3 separate regions of the Homo sapiens genome follow, and all the other regions are linked to region 1. Evidence: promoter capture Hi-C in 16 types of primary human blood cells and fetal thymus (Javierre and others, 2016). All regions are on one chromosome and are shown on one strand. The core of a region is centred on a gene start or on the middle of the fragment in contact, and the rest is flanking DNA. Distances in the headings are between cores, read along the strand shown. Region 1 holds the start of IL24 (interleukin 24). Region 2 overlaps CR1 (complement C3b/C4b receptor 1 (Knops blood group)). Region 3 overlaps CR2 (complement C3d receptor 2).

Region 1 (3,501 bases), core at 554-3,053:
GCACTCTCACCTGGTCTTCTTTTCTGTCTCATCACTGCCTCTTGACATCTTTATCTCATAGTAGTTAGTTAGGGGTTCTTGGTAATGCCCTAAATCCACATGGTGGGAAGGGGGGAGTGGGGGAAGAGAGTGCGCTGTGGGGCTGTGCCTACTTCTGGAGGGTAAGACTCGGGCCCTCCAGGAACAAAGGATTCAGGCTGGTGGCAGCTATAGCCAAGCAGACTGCTGGCCAGGGATTGCAAAGGAGTATTTTGTTTGCTTAAGAAAATAAACAACACTGAGTATGAGATGGAGGGAGGGGGTGTTGGTGCCAGAGAGATTGGGAAGAGTCTGCCAAGGGTGTGTTCTACTCACTCTCCTCTTTTCTTTCATCTCCACTGAGCTGGAGGCAGTTATCCTGTCCCCCACGTCACATTCCTACTCCCGTTTCCCATGCCTGGACCCAGGTTGGGCAAACTCTTCCTGTAAAGAACCAGACAGGAACTATTTTAGGCTCTGTGTGCCATATGGTCTCAGTCACAACTACTCATCTCTGCCTCTGTAGCACGAAAGCAATTAGCAACAATATGTCAACAAACATATGTGACCCCATGAAAACTTTATTTATTATGGATACGGAAACCTGAAAATAATGTCTTTCTTTTGATTTTTTCCCCAATCATTAAAAAACGTAAAAACTACTCTTAGGTCGCAAGGTTAAGCCATTCTCAGCTTAGCAGTGGCAGGCTGGATTTGGCTTGTGACCTACAGTTGGCCAATCCCTGATTCCCAAAATGTATTCCTCAGGGATGTGGGCAAATACTTATGGGAAATGCTGGATTAAACAGAGTTAAGAAGCATCAGACATTTCCAGGACGGGCTAGCACATGCCAGGGCTCTCTAACTGACCTCATTAGGATTCATCTGTTTCATGGAGGATCTTGCAAGACAAGAATTCCTCAAACCTAGAGTCTGAGGACTGTGCTTTGGGAAACACTGCTCTGCTTGATGCCCTCACTGGGCACATGGTAGAATCTAGAGCTGAGTGCCTTGCTAGCTGGAGATAGGGTCAGAGCTCTTGACTGCCCTGGCAGTCTTGACACATCACGCTGTCTGTGTCCCCTGAGTGGTTCAGAGCCACACAGGCCAAGACTAGCCCACCAGAGCACCAGGCCTCCCAGCTTTCTGGGCTTGTCCATGCGTACATTTCCTTATTCTTCCTGGTTTCCAGAACCTAAGGAGAGGCACATTTTGGTTGAGTGATTATAACCCTAGGGACCATGGGTAGCTGCATGTCAGGAAACACTCCTCAACTTCCTGGCCCTGATGGATTAAAGGAGAGGTACTTACAGGTTATTTCTTCGCTGTGGACTACTGTCCCAGCATGAATAGGGCATCATTATTGAATTATTTTGACAGGAAGGAGACTGGTGTATGCTGCACAGTAATAATGTATTTACATGTGTACAGAGTTTACCAAGCACCTCTGTGTTGTTTTTGCCTCTGTTTATTACACTTGCCCTTGGGGGGAGGTGGGACAAATTTTTTAAAAATTTATACATGCAGAGACTGCAGCGCAGAGAAGCTAAGAGACTTGCCCCTGCCCACACAGCCAGTGGTAGAGCCTGAACTCAAACCCAGGTCTCATCTCACCTCAGGGGCTGCTTTCCCCATCGCTGTATTGTCCTTAAAGTGATGGGTGACTAGGCAATGAAGTAATTCTCTAGGAAAGCATGACCAATTTCCCTTTCTCCACCTCCCTCTTTTTCCTCCACCCCTCCCCCATCAGCCCCCATATATATGCCCAAATCTCCACAAAGCCTTGCTTGCCTGCAAACCTTTACTTCTGAAATGACTTCCACGGCTGGGACGGGAACCTTCCACCCACAGCTATGCCTCTGATTGGTGAATGGTGAAGGTGCCTGTCTAACTTTTCTGTAAAAAGAACCAGCTGCCTCCAGGCAGCCAGCCCTCAAGCATCACTTACAGGACCAGAGGTGAGCATGGGGGATTCTTGGTTACTTTTTTTTGAAGGACTAGACCTCTGCTTTATTTGTGAAAAGGGGTCAAGGTGGGGACAGCAGAAGTCAATTTTTTTGAGTGTTGATGTAGGGACAAGACATGACTGTGATGAGGAGCTGCTTTCGCCAATTTAACACCAAGAAGAATTGAGGCTGCTTGGGAGGAAGGCCAGGAGGAACACGAGACTGAGAGATGAATTTTCAACAGAGGCTGCAAAGCCTGTGGACTTTAGCCAGGTGCGGTGGCTCACACCTGTAATCCCAGAACTTTGGGAGGCTGAGGTGGGCAGATCATTTAAGGTCAGGAGTTCGAGACCAGCCTGGCCAACATGGTGAAACCCTGTCTCTACTAAAAATACAAAAAAAAATTAGTTGGGCATGTGTTTTTGATATTTTCAGATACAAAAATCCCAGCTACTTGGGCGACTGAGGCATGAGCATCACTTGAACCTGGTAGGCAGAGGTTGCAGTGAGCCGAGATCATGCCACTGCACTCCAGCCTGGGTGACAGACTGAAATTCTGTCAAAAAAAAAAAAAAAAAAAAAAGCCTGTGGAGTTTGAAAGAACAGAATGAAAAGACATTGAGGGAGATGCTAAAGCATAGCCCCCGTCCCCCGTGACCCATAACCCAGGGGTCGCCGCCTCCCTAGCCCAGGTACCAGCAGAACCGGGTCTTCTCTGGTCTTCCTCCCGGTGTAGGGGTGGGAGGCAGTTTCTTTAGGTGTCAGACCAGTGCCTGCAGTAAGAAAGGTTCTTAAATGATTGTGTAAAGAAGTACGAAAGAAAGGGAGAAAGTAAGAAAGGGAGGGAGCGAGAGAGGAAAGAAGGAAGAAAGAAAGGTAAGGAGGGAGGGAGGGAGAGAGGGAGGGAAAGGACAAAGGGCAAAGAAGGCAGGGGGAAAGAAATTCTCTGCATCAGTTATAATAAATACATAATGGCGTTAGGTTCCCCAGCTTGGAGGCTCTTCACTCAGTCCTTCCCAACTGGCACTTCAGAGGAAGGCTTTAGAGATGATTCATCTGGAAATCTGATGCCTCTCTCTCATTTGGTTACTAAAAAAAGTGAATTTTTAGACTCAAGAGTGAGTGGTTAGTGGAGGTGGCATAGTCTGTGTGTGACCCTGACCTGCCCTCTGTGCCCCTCCCTGGGACCAGGATTAACCCCTTGCTCCCTTGTGATGAGGAGTGAGGGACAGCCGTCTCCTGGGGAGGAGAAAAAGACCTGCCAGCCTATGTGTGCCTAGTGGCTTCAGGGCAGAACTTGGATAAGCACATGTCTAGTTCAGCTCTTTGTTTTCCTGGGTTTGGGCTCCCCAGACGTGGCACATTAGAACCTCCCATTTCTCCACTCTTCTGGGTCAAATTCTGACTCGCAGGTTGTAGGCTAGAGAGAACTGCGATGGAGAAGGAGGAGGTGCAGGGCGTGTGGGTGTGGACGGGCAAGGTGGGGAAGAGCAGGTGGACAGATGGCAAGACGAGCGGCCTTAAGTTTGAGGGGCAG
Region 2 (3,501 bases), core at 653-3,152, 600 kb after region 1:
CTAGGTAAAGGTGCAAGATAGAAGGGAAGTTCCAATTTGCTTTCTGTGCTTTGTGGTGTATTTTGGTTTACATATGCTCAGATGAGTGGATGTGTGATTTATATTATCTATTTTAATCTAAAATAAGCTTCACATTTGGACAGGTAACATCAAAAGTGTCCTACACAGAAATGCTGGGTGAAGATCCCAGTAATAAAACCAACTCCAGAAAACAAGAAAATGGTAGAGTTGACAATCCCTCTCACCCTCTCCGCAAAGACACATGTATACACATTTTTTGTCAGAGGCATTAAGTAGAAGAAATGCTGTCAGTCTAATCACAACTGATCACAACTCGATGAAACCAAAAAACCTAGAAAGTATCATGAAGACTGTCGAAATAAGCTTTACATTCACTATTGTGAACAGAGAGACTCAATGTGACTGTTTTTTGTCCCGTTAGATGTTAGCTAATGATTGTGCTAAGTCATGATGATTAACAAAGCATTTAAAATATTTATTTTATCTGTGTTACATTTCAAAAATTTATATTGAGGCATATAATTTATGTTCGTGTACATATATAATTTATAAATTTATATATTTGAAAGGGCATGCTCTTTTTTTAAACTGATAGAGGTGCCTAAGCAAAGCAAGTGCAAATCTATTCCTTAAAGGGTAAGTATGCAGAATGGAAAGCAGAGTGTTCTTTGGGTTGACAGCTCATATTGCAACAGACATGAAAGTGATGATGTGTTAATTGTGCATATAGCACAGAATACATCAACTTGCTTTGAATGGAATATCTGAACCAGGAGAATGTGAAAGTGGGCTGAGTCATACAAGACAAAACCCGAAATGAGATAACAATACATACCCACTAGAATGACTAAAATGAAAAAGATTGACCGAGCCAAGTGTTGGCGATAAGGTGGAGTAACTGGAATTATAATATACTGCTATTTGGCAGGTAAAATTATAACATTAACTTTAGAAAATAGTTCAACAGATTCTTAAAACCTTAGACACACACTCAACATTTTACTCTTAGGTTTTTACCCAAGAGAAATGAAATCATATGTCCACACAAAGACTTGTACATGAATTTTCATAGCAGTTTTGTTTGTAATAGCCAACACGTGGAAACAATCCAAATGTCCCTCAACAAGTAAATGGATAAACTAAATTAAGATATATTTATGCAATTGAATATTACCCAGCAACTAAAGGAAACAATTTGTATACATGCAGCAACCTAGATGGATCTCTAATTATGCTGTGTGAAGGCTAAACCATAAAAAAAAACCTGAGTGATTTCCTTTATACAATAGGATATAAATGAAGTGATTTAGGTTATATGAAATTTTAGAAAGTCAAATCAATCTGTAGTAAGAGAAAACCACCTGAGTTATTTCCTTTATATGATAGGATATAAACGAAGTGATTCGGGTTATATGAAATTTTAGAAAGTCAGATCAATCTGTAGTAAGAGAAAACACATTGAAGGTTGCCTAGAGAAGGAAGTGGATGTTTGGATGGATTACAGAAGGGCATGAGGGAACTCTGTGTGGGTGGGATGTATGATGGAAACGTTTATTGTCTTCATTTTGGTGATGGTTTCACAACGCATACATATGTTATAAGTAATCGAATTGTACACTTCAAATACTCATCAATCATTGTATGTAATATATCTTGATAAAGCTATAAAAACTTTTAAAATTATGGTAGGTCTTCAGTTTGTGGATTTTATATTAATATATTTGTCATAGGAACTAGTCACAATTGAGGGATTGGTAATAAAGGAGAGAAAGGAAACTACATCAAGCTTTCTTTGTTGAAGGCTCATATATTCCTTTTTTGAGCTATTATACAACTTTGCTTTTTATAATTACCTATACTATTCATATACTACTATGCAGGTAAGAATATTATGTAATTAAGGGGAAGGAACTTCTTTCCAAGAATGGTTCATTCAATTTGCTTTGTTACTTTAGGTCTCATTCCTTCCTCTCGTTGCAAGCTTTGCTGTGACATTTACCCTCTCTCAATACAGCTTTTGGCGCTAGGCACTTCACATGGAATCTCTTCCTTTGTCCGGCATCAATGGATAAGACAAATATCAAAATTGTATTTCATCCCACATATCAACTAGAGGAAAGGTGAATGCATAACACTGAAAATAACAGCAACTGTTTTACTCAGTGTTTTTTTTTTTTACAGTATCCTCAAAGTGCTGTTATCTATCAAAATCAGCTGTGAAAATTTTTAAAAATAGACTCCTGGGCCCTAACCTAGACCCACTAAATCAGAGATTTGGGGGACATAGCTTGGATTCTTGATTTTTTTGAGTTTTATAAGTAATTCTTCATTTTTTGTTCATTGCAACAAATATGCATTGAGTTCTTATAATTGAGTGTTAAGCACCAGGACTAAGTATTAATTTAGAGGTACAAAAAAACACATCATCTCTTGCCTTTAAATTATGCATATCTAATATCTATTGAGAGAAATAGATACTTCTAAAAGCACACAAAGATAAAAAGCACAAATTGTAATAACAAACAATTATTGATATGAAAGGAAAAGCAAAGTGTCGGACTAGAAATTATTATAGGGTGGGGCAGAGGGAAGTAGTTTAGATTCCAAATCCCTAAGAGGGTCAGGGAAGGCTTCAGATGAGATTGGGTGTGTTCAGGGTGGTATGGCCATAGGCAGGCTGGGGAAGGCTTCTATAAGAAAGTGACATTTTAGCAGATGCCTGAAGGAAGAATTGAAGTCAGAGTGAAGATAAAATTGCGTCACATAGAAGGAATGTCATAGACGGGAAAAATGTGTGTCTTTGGGAAACTGAAAAAGGGGAAAGGGCCACACCTTGGTGAGGGGACCAAGTGGCACAAGATGAGGCAGGGAACATAGACAAGGGCTTCCTTGCTTAACAACTGCTGGCTTAATAAAGCAAATGTGTGATGATGGATACAGGCTGTCTGGGAAAAATAAGTAAGAAATATGAGCTTTCTTGGAGCATCATCCTTTGCTTCAGTAGAAAGCACAGAGTTAGGCTTCCAATTCTGACTAAAGCCATTGACAACAGGGAAAAGGCAACCTTAGGAATTCTCCTCTCTGTCCGGGGTCCCGTGGGCACTATGATGGAGCTCATGAGATGCAGATGAGAAGTCCCAGGCTGAATCCGGGGCACATTCACTCAGGAGAGCTGAGGTCACCAGTCACTGAGGTCATCCAGTGCATTCCCGACAGCATAGGCTCATTCCAAGCTAGTTCTGCAAAGGAGCAGAAAATGAACTCTTGGAAGCAAAGCAAGCACTCCCACTTTAGCGGAATAATCGAATTTAACTCTTAGAAGTCCCCTTACCCTTTTCTAAGGGTAATAATCGTAAGTATAATTTATGAAGTGCCTTCTGTGTATGTGGCAGCATATACTACTTTTGATTCTCCCTGCAAACCTGGTAGGAAAATATTATTCCCTTTATGAAGATGAAACTGAGGCTCAGCAAGATTAAG
Region 3 (3,501 bases), core at 318-2,817, 570 kb after region 1:
TCCGCCTATCCTAAATGGCCGGATTAGTTATTATTCTACCCCCATTGCTGTTGGTACCGTGATAAGGTACAGTTGTTCAGGTACCTTCCGCCTCATTGGAGAAAAAAGTCTATTATGCATAACTAAAGACAAAGTGGATGGAACCTGGGATAAACCTGCTCCTAAATGTGAATATTTCAATAAATATTCTTCTTGCCCTGAGCCCATAGTACCAGGAGGATACAAAATTAGAGGCTCTACACCCTACAGACATGGTGATTCTGTGACATTTGCCTGTAAAACCAACTTCTCCATGAACGGAAACAAGTCTGTTTGGTGTCAAGCAAATAATATGTGGGGGCCGACACGACTACCAACCTGTGTAAGTGGTGAGTATGAAAAGAAAGCTGGGTTGGGAGGTTGGGGTCTTGCCTTTCTGTGCAGACCACGTTTTGTACCCTCCTGAAGGACAAACAGTGTGAACATGTAATGATGAGGGTGGAAGAAGGAAACAAGGGAAAAGGTGAAAGTTATGGCTTCTTCGTGGAGGCATATAACTGCTCGTTCAAAAAACATCAATTGAGCAAAGGAGTTTAAAGTACATGGAAAAATGTAATTAAACACACCTAATAATTGAGTAGGGTAAGTTTTGCAAGGATGGGGTCAGAGTTTGTTGGGGATGTGGGAATGGGGTGGTTTTCAACTGTATATCTGTGTTACTGTTAAAATGAGAAGAACGGTGGGATCTTATAGCAAAAATACACCCAATGGATTTGAAATTAATGTATAAGTAGCTGCTAACACAGTCTAGCACAGGTGATATCCTGCTCTCTGTGGTCTCTGTAAACATGTTTTGAAGTTATCCACTATTTCCCCAAGTCATCTTCTGAGCCATCACATTTCAAATAAATGCCTTTGAAAATAGGGACCTACTGTAAATTATTCATTCCTTCTCTTTTGGTTTGGTTTATGTTGCTGCTGAAATATAAATCTGAATTTGAATTCCACAATTACAAGAAATGGCAATATTTGACAAAAATTATACTATCAAATTAGGTATTTTCTTAATAAAGAACAATATTGACAAATTTTAAGCAGATTAAAGAGCTGACAAAACTGTTAAATTAGTATAAAATGGGATTCTGTTTATTGATTGATTGATTGATAAATAGCCTTGGAGGAAGGAGATCTTAACGATAGTTACAAAGGGCAATGGCTGCTGAAAACAGTTAAGCCTTTGTAACAATTTAGACAGACATATATGTATGGACATGGAAGGATATCGTATACATGTCGCTAAGTAGAGGAAGTAAGGCATAGAATATGTATTAGTTGTACACACACACATAATATAGGTGTATATATGTATCATGCATAGGATCCCAATAAACTATATTGCCAATATCTACCAGGATAGCCCTTGAAATGATAGCATGCTACTTTTGGAACAGAGAATAAGCTTAAGGATAGGGTGAGAATATAGGTGAAAATTGACTTTTTTTGGTAATTGAAATTTTTCACAAGGCAAATGTAATTCATATAGTGTAACTAAAAATGAAAAATAAGGTACTATTTATGGCTATTTGTGGCATAAAATGGATACACTTAAACCACACCTGTTTGATCTTTAAAAGACTAGGTTGAAAGTTAATACCAACTGGCTACCATAGATCATGTGTCATTTATTTAAATCCATATCCTAAGTCAGCATCTCGATCAAGCTTGTCCAACTCGCTACCCGTGGACAGCATGTGGCCCAGGATGGCTTTGAATGTGGCCCAACAGAAATTCATAAACTTTCTTAAACCATTATGAGATTTTTTTTTTGCAATTTTTTTAGCTTATCAGCTATCATTAGTGTTAGCGTATATTATGTGTGGCCCAAGACAATTTTTCTTCTTCCAATGTTGCCCAGGGAAGCCAAAAGATTGGACCCCCTTGATTCTAGATTGTGAAGGATGCATCATCTGACGGCTTTTTTTTCCTGGTATGTGTGTGTAAAGTTTTCCCTCTCGAGTGTCCAGCACTTCCTATGATCCACAATGGACATCACACAAGTGAGAATGTTGGCTCCATTGCTCCAGGATTGTCTGTGACTTACAGCTGTGAATCTGGTTACTTGCTTGTTGGAGAAAAGATCATTAACTGTTTGTCTTCGGGAAAATGGAGTGCTGTCCCCCCCACATGTGAAGGTACCCTAAATTTACAATCTATTTTAAGAATCTGGGCTGTTCTGTTATTTGCCATGCATTTCTCATCTTTGGTTTGTTTTTTAGAGGCACGCTGTAAATCTCTAGGACGATTTCCCAATGGGAAGGTAAAGGAGCCTCCAATTCTCCGGGTTGGTGTAACTGCAAACTTTTTCTGTGATGAAGGGTGAGTGTCAGGATTATTTATGAGATTTAATTCATTTGTCTTGTGTGTGCGTGGTGTGGACTGTGAAACCTGCAGAAGTCTCCTCTGTGAGGATCTCTGGGCAGTCTGGGGTAGGGTTGTGAGAGGTAATGCTGATAAAAGGAACAGATGCACACTGATTGAAATGAACTTGTCTTGAATTGTAAGTAGAGGCTGCTGTTCTTCAGCACAAACTGCCTAATAGTTCTGAATGACAACCTTCTGTCTCCAGGTATCGACTGCAAGGCCCACCTTCTAGTCGGTGTGTAATTGCTGGACAGGGAGTTGCTTGGACCAAAATGCCAGTATGTGAAGGTAGGCTAGGCAACTATGGTCTGACAGCACTGCATTCTCAGCTTAACTAAAAGCTTTTGGTTCAGTCATTACCTTACAGACTCTTACTGAACACAGAACTCCTAGAGATCTTTAAGGATATGTGCTTCACCAAAGCATCCTTATTTTTTGTTTCCTCAAGTAAAATGGGGTTCCTAGGCTTTCCCTCCTCTGAAAGCTATGCAGACCTTCTAAGTAGGTAGACCATATGCATAAAGAAAATAGTGTATTTGGTAAAAGAAATCAAAGGATCAGCAGAGTACATATACTCAGGAATGAAGCTTGAGAATCAATCTTCTAAATTATGTTGCTTTAGCTGCCTTGACTGATTCATTATAGACTCGGATATCACTGTCCTAGGATAGTGGTATCAAGCAGCATCTGGGGCATTCTTTGTTTTCAATACACCTATGATCTTGTCATTTCTTTCTGCAATTCCCCTAGAAATTTTTTGCCCATCACCTCCCCCTATTCTCAATGGAAGACATATAGGCAACTCACTAGCAAATGTCTCATATGGAAGCATAGTCACTTACACTTGTGACCCGGACCCAGAGGAAGGAGTGAACTTCATCCTTATTGGAGAGAGCACTCTCCGTTGTACAGTTGATAGTCAGAAGACTGGGACCTGGAGTGGCCCTGCCCCACGCTGTGAACTTTCTACTTCTGCGGTTCAGTGTCCACATCCCCAGATCCTAAGAGGCCGAATGGTATCTGGGCAGAAAGATCGATATACCTATAACGACACTGTGATATTTGCTTGCATGTTTGGCTTCACCTTGAAGGGCAGCAAGC

The links. Contacts are between HindIII fragments. The CHiCAGO score rates a contact against its expected background, and 5 or more counts as called.
Region 2: a contact is called between a fragment that was not itself captured here and the fragment with the promoter of IL24 in region 1, in 2 of 17 cell types (naive B cells and endothelial precursors). The highest score is 6.1, in naive B cells.
Region 3: a contact is called between a fragment that was not itself captured here and the fragment with the promoter of IL24 in region 1, in 1 of 17 cell types (endothelial precursors). The highest score is 5.1, in endothelial precursors.

What each region holds. Positions count from the first base shown.
Region 1 is chr1:206,895,640-206,899,140 of GRCh38, forward strand. IL24 (interleukin 24) reads left to right here and starts at 1,804. Exons shown (of 7, transcript NM_006850.3): 1 at 1,804-1,976; 2 at 2,092-2,237. The coding sequence starts at 2,194. It overlaps LOC105372879 (a long non-coding RNA gene), which reads right to left and starts at 479. Exons shown (of 2, transcript XR_007066836.1): 1 at 355-479. The HindIII fragment of the contact is 4,835 bases long and covers 1-3,501 here.
Region 2 is chr1:207,499,733-207,503,233 of GRCh38, forward strand. The region is part of intron 1 of CR1 (complement C3b/C4b receptor 1 (Knops blood group)); the gene reads left to right. Among named protein-coding and RNA genes, the nearest start is that of CR1, 5.3 kb to the left of the region's middle. The HindIII fragment of the contact is 195 bases long and covers 1,806-2,000 here.
Region 3 is chr1:207,466,545-207,470,045 of GRCh38, forward strand. It overlaps CR2 (complement C3d receptor 2), which reads left to right. Exons shown (of 20, transcript NM_001006658.3): 2 at 1-368; 3 at 1,983-2,171; 4 at 2,256-2,355; 5 at 2,606-2,688; 6 at 3,151-3,501. Among named protein-coding and RNA genes, the nearest start is that of CR2, 14 kb to the left of the region's middle. RefSeq lists an enhancer at 2,733-3,501. The HindIII fragment of the contact is 262 bases long and covers 1,437-1,698 here.